Linked DNA regions of Homo sapiens: region 2 is linked to region 1. Evidence: promoter capture Hi-C in human tissues and cell types (Jung and others, 2019). All regions are on one chromosome and are shown on one strand. The core of a region is centred on a gene start or on the middle of the fragment in contact, and the rest is flanking DNA. Distances in the headings are between cores, read along the strand shown.

The links. The method cuts DNA at HindIII sites, captures the fragments that hold promoters and counts their contacts. A contact is called where the count stands out against the background at its distance.
Region 2: a fragment that was not itself captured here is called in contact with the fragment with the promoter of ARHGAP12 in region 1 in 1 of the 25 tissues and cell types used here (lymphoblastoid cells).

What each region holds. Positions count from the first base shown.
Region 1 is chr10:31,927,515-31,930,196 of GRCh38, reverse strand. It overlaps ARHGAP12 (Rho GTPase activating protein 12), which reads left to right and starts at 1,366. Exons shown (of 20, transcript NM_018287.7): 1 at 1,366-1,514. LOC107984219 (a long non-coding RNA gene) reads right to left here. Exons shown (of 3, transcript XR_001747415.2): 1 at 2,154-2,682; 2 at 1,375-1,535. RefSeq lists a silencer at 1,195-1,694. The HindIII fragment of the contact is 14,818 bases long and covers 1-2,682 here.
Region 2 is chr10:32,324,046-32,326,727 of GRCh38, reverse strand. The region is part of intron 1 of EPC1 (enhancer of polycomb 1); the gene reads left to right. Among named protein-coding and RNA genes, the nearest start is that of EPC1, 22 kb to the left of the region's middle. The HindIII fragment of the contact is 3,077 bases long and covers 1-2,682 here.

The DNA of each region.
Region 1 (2,682 bases), core at 117-2,616:
GGTTAGAAACCGAGGGAGACAAAAAGGCAGTGGGTGCCAAGGACTGTGAAAAGCAAATGCAACGATAGAGACAGCACAGTCTCAGGCTTATTTTTCAAAAATTCTCATTGTAAGCCTCTTTCCTTTCTAAATGGAGACTATCTTAACACTTTAGCTCGCATTAGACTTAATTTAATAAGAAGGTTGTAAACCACAGCTGTTAAAGTCTTGCCACTGCCCTACCGGATTCTTCGCATCCTGTAAGGCACAATTCGGAGTTCAGCTGGTTGATAAGGAAGCCAGGCATTGTGGCATCTTCAAGTACGAAGTGAAGCACAGGAAAGAGCCAACTCCGGAGAGTAGCTCTTCATTGCTTGAATCATACATATGCTTGTTTTTTCCCCCCTCTCCTTTCTGGTCTCTATTATTAACAAATATTTCATCCTGGCACAACAGGCACAATCAACAACTGGTTAAGGAATGAGTAGTTACTGAAGTCCCAACGCCTCTCAGTTATTTTTCTCACACTCACTGTATTCTAGACCTAGAAGCCAGCTCTCATTTGAAAGCTGAGGTTCAGAAGGGTGAAGTGCCAATAAATGGCAGAAGCCAGGTCTCTTTCCTGATTCCCATTCCAGCTGAGCTCCTCCTGCCACTGGATCACCATCAAAGACCTGCCAAAGCTGTTACTTCCGGGTTCGGTGCTGCCACAGTGCAAACGGGGATGACTTTGGACAATGACCCTGTGGCCCCCGCAGGGCTCGCACCCTCAGGCCCGTGGAAGGCTAAATGCTGACGGACTGGTTCTGCCCTGGAGCGGCTCTCCGCGTCCCAGGGGTCTCCTCAGTCCCGAGTGTGCACAGCGGGTCCTGCCACGTACCCTGGCGACCCCAGCAATGGACTCAGTGCCCCGGGTCCCTTTCCGTCTCCCTCAGGCGGCGTGCAGCACTTTTTCGGGTGTCCCAGTGGAATTTCCGGGCCCGTGAACGACTGACCCACGCCCGGCCGCAGCTCCAGGGGCCGACGAAGGGAGCGCTAGGGCCCACGGCAGGGCCGTCTTTGCCCGGGCTCCATTCCTGCCACCCTGGCGCTATGTCCGCCCTTCCCTGGTTTTCCCTACGAGCGTTTTTTTAACGCTTCCCACTCCTTGTTTACAAAGTGCTGAGCCCCCTTGACCGCAGGCTCCCGCGCCGGCCCGAGTTCCCACACCGTACGCTGGCTGCCCCCTATTCGGATCCCCGCCGGGCGCCGCACCCCCTAGCCACCCCAGACCGTCCCGGAGACCCGCGCCCGCCCAGCTCGCCCGGGCCATCACGTGAGCCTCCCGCCCCGCCCCCGCGCGTCACGTGAGCCCCGCCCCCGCGCCGGCGCGCTCCGACGTGCCCTGTAACTTACCCTCCCTCAGAGGCCAGCCTGCGGGGACGGGCCGGCCGCGGCCGTAGCCGTGTGAACGCTCTTCGGGCTCGCGTCGTCGACCCGCAGCCGCGGGGCGGACTAAGAAGGGAGCCGCCTGCTGCGAGGCCGCCGGGCTCCCGGTGAGGTGCAGGGCGCGGGTCCTGGCGGACGGAGGGCAGGTTGGCGAGGCGCTGCACAAAGGCGCGCCGGGGCCGGGCTGTGCCCGCCGAGGGCGGTGGAGTCGGGGGGAGGCGTGTGCGGGAGGCGCGGCGGCGGCGGCGGCGGCGCCGCGGAGGTGCGCGCAAAGGGAGGTCGGGCGCGCAGCGAGGGGCTCTGGGCGCGGGGGTTAGGCGCCGAGGGGGAGGGGGCCGGCGCAGCCTATTGGCTGACGTGGGCGAGAGGGTTTAAATGGCCCGAAGTTGTGGCTTCTCTGCCCCCTGGGTTTCCTGACTTCCTGTGTGAGGGCAGCGCCCGCCCGCCCCGCCCCCAGGGAGGAGAGTGTGAGGGTGCGCGGGTGTGTGTGTGAGTGCGGGAGAGTGCGCGCGTGTGTGCACAAGGCGGGTGTGTGCGTGTCTATGTGCAAAAGGCGGGTGTGTGCGCGCGCGTGTGTCTGCAAAAGGCGGGTGTGTGTGTGTGTGTGTGTGTGTGCGCAAAAGGCCGGCCCGGCCCCTCCCGCGCCCTGGGCCCACTCCCTAATCGCGGTGGGGCTTGCAGGCCTCCACCCACCCGGGGAGCCCACCCGGGGAATCCACCTGGGGCGTCCCTCGAGGACTGTTGACCTTAAACCGGACACTTTCTTCTTTGCGGTCTTTCCCGGTGCCCTGCCCCTGCTGGATGGACGTGCATTCGCTCCCCTCCAGCTTATCTGGGCGGAATCTCCTCAAAGTCCTTGAATTGAAAAATCCTCTTTACCAGCGTGCAGCCCGCCTCCCATCTCAGGGGAGCTGGTTGTCTTCTCAGAACGGCTGTCCTTTACGCGTTGCTATCTTAAGTGACTGCAGACCCTTTGAGAAGAAATGGCCACACGGTCTTCGTTAGAGAAAAAGGCACGCCCTTCAGCTTTCGAGGCGTGTGATGTTTTCCTTTTGACTGCAGCTGCAGTTTTGTAAATGTATTTTCAAAGGCTAAAGCACGACGTTGAAAGTACACCTTTATCGAAAGTTTTAATGTCATCCCAAGTGGAGTGTTTGTTGTGGATAGAGGCTTTTAGCACTCTAATAACACGATTGGTTGTGGCTGGCTTTTGGGTTAATCATGACATTGAGAAGTAGATTTTATCGACTATTTAGGCATGCGTTCCTAAAGGGA
Region 2 (2,682 bases), core at 119-2,618, 400 kb before region 1:
AATACATTATCTGCTTTTCAAGTTATTATAACTGACTTTTACCAAATATTTTGTACTGCTTGTTAAGGATTGCCATCCTTCTAGCCTCTGAGAAGTTTCCTTGCTGCCTGGCCTTCAAGCCAGTGGCATATATTTTAGTTTTTTTTGTTATAATAGTACCCTATCTCCAGGTACCAATTTATATTTGTTAGGATGGACTAGGATATGCTGTGATAACCAAGAACCTCAAAATCTTAGTGGCATAAAATACGCAAAGTTTTTTTTCTTATTCTTGTCACATTTTGGATCATTGTCCTGGATCAGCAGGGGAACCAGGGTGATACAGCAGTAAACATCTCAAGCCTGGCGACAGGTGGAAGAGTGCATTGAAAGATTTCACATCTTTCACTGACAGTTAAATGCCATGGTTCAGAAGTCATATAGGTCACTTTGACTTACAATTGGCCAGAATTAGGCACCTAACCCCTCCCAGCCACACGACAGCCAGAAAGTACAATCATACCAGAAATTTTGATGAACAACTCTAAAGACTTAACCCTTTCAGTATTCGTTTTTGTGTATTGGAAGAGGAAGGATAAGGAAGTAGGGATATTGTAGGTTCTGTCCTACAACTCCTTGCAGTGTGTTAACTGTACTTTTGTTTTTTGGAGATCTTTGAGAAGACAGATAAGAGGTATAAATTCATCAAGCCATGTTTCATCTGTCCTGAGTTTAAGGTCTTTATCCTTCTTCCTACTATTAAAAAGTAAGTTTTGCATTCTAACCATGATTTGGTCAGACTTTAACATAAAGACCTCATTTACTTACTGGAAGGCATACTGTAGTTGATATTGTCAGACTGAAATAAATTCCTAATTAAGTACAAGTGTTGTAACACCAGTCCTCTGCTACCATTTATCACTGGAAAAAGTTAATTTGCCTTTATAGAGTTAAAAAAAAAACACCAAAAAACCGGCAGTGTCTGCCACAGTTTGCTTCTTTGAAATGAGATTGTGATTACTCTTTTTTTGCCTACATTTGGAAGAATCAGCCTTTCATTCTAACCAAATTTAATGCATGATACAAACTTTTAGTATGGTTTACTTAATATTTTTGTAGGGAACATCTTAAATATTATCTGGAAACTTTACTTGATGTATTTTATCTCCTTCCACTCTGAAATAAGGGAATTTGTGTGATGTTTATATTAGCCTCAGAACCTTTACAAGAAAAGATAAAATTTTCCTTCTTTTATGTCACGTTTTGCAACCATTAGCCCCTTCCTGTGGAAATTAAAGTTGTTAGGAATTTTCTCTTGTTTCCATAGGAAAGAAGAAACCAGATTTATTTAACATAGCATTAAGCTTTAAAAATGATCCAGTGAGTTATCTCATATCCATTGTGGGGTGAGGTATGTGTTGTAAATAATCTTTGAAATGAATTATTGCTATTAATTAGAAAAGCTGTAAAAACAAGGCTTCCCTGTGATGGTAATACACACTTTTCTTTTTTAATTTTGTTTTGTGTTTTACAGTGTGTAGAGAGATCTCATTCTCTTGTACAAGTTGAAGTTTCTGACTATACTCAATATAGTATAGTGCTTGAATTTATCATAAAACGTCCTTAAGTTCTACAGTGAGAATTGATTATGTTCATAGGTTGACACTTGTTTTGTTAACAGTGACAGTCTGCAGCTAAAAATTAATTCAAGGTTTTATTTATTTATTTTTATTTATTTATTTTTCTTTTGAGACAGAGTCTCACTCTGTCGCCCTGGCTGGAGAGCAGTGGCAGGATCTCTGCTCACTGCAACGTCAGTTACCTGGGTTCTGCAGGTTTGCCATTTTCCTGCCTCAGCCTCGCAAGTGGCTGGGACTACAGGCTCCAGCCACCACGCCCAGCTAATTTTTTGTATTTTTCGTGGAGACGGGGTTTCACCGTGTTAGCCAGGATGGTCTCAATCTCCTGACCTCGTGATCCGCCGACCTCGGCCTCCCAAAGTGCTGGGATTACAGTCTTGAGCCACCGCGCCCGGCTAAAATGTGTTCTTGTTTGTTTGTTTGTTTGTTTGTTTTTTAAGATTAGTAGGAGAAAGAATATCTTTTAAGAAAACACAAGGTAAATTTGGAACTAAAGTTTTAAAAATTTATCTACTTATTTATTAAGTAAATAAGAGTAAGATTTATTAGAGTAACTTTTTTTTTTTTTGTCTTTTTTGAGACAGAGTGTCTCACTCTGTAGCCCAGGCTGGATTGCAGTGGCACAATCTCGGCTCACTGCAGCCTGGCATCTCGAGTTCAAGCGATTCTTCTGCCTCAGCCTCCTGAGTAGCTGGGATTATAGGCACCCGCCACCACGCAGAGACGGGTTTCACTACGTTGGCCAGGCTGGTCTGGAACTCCTGACCTCAGGCGATCCACCCGCCTTGGCCTCCCAAAGTGCTGGGATTACAGGCGTGAACCACATGCCCAGCCTAGAGTAACTATTAAGCTTATTTATTAAAGAATAACTAGGCCGGGCGCAGTGGCTCACGCCTGTAATCCCAGCACTTTGGGAGGCTGAGGTGGGCGGATCACGAGGTTAGGAGGTCCAGACCATCCTGGCTAACATGGTGAAACCCTGTTTTTACTAAAAAATACAAAAAAATTAGCCAGGCGTGGTGGCGGGCGCCTGTAGTCCCAGCCACTTGGGAGGCTGAAGCAG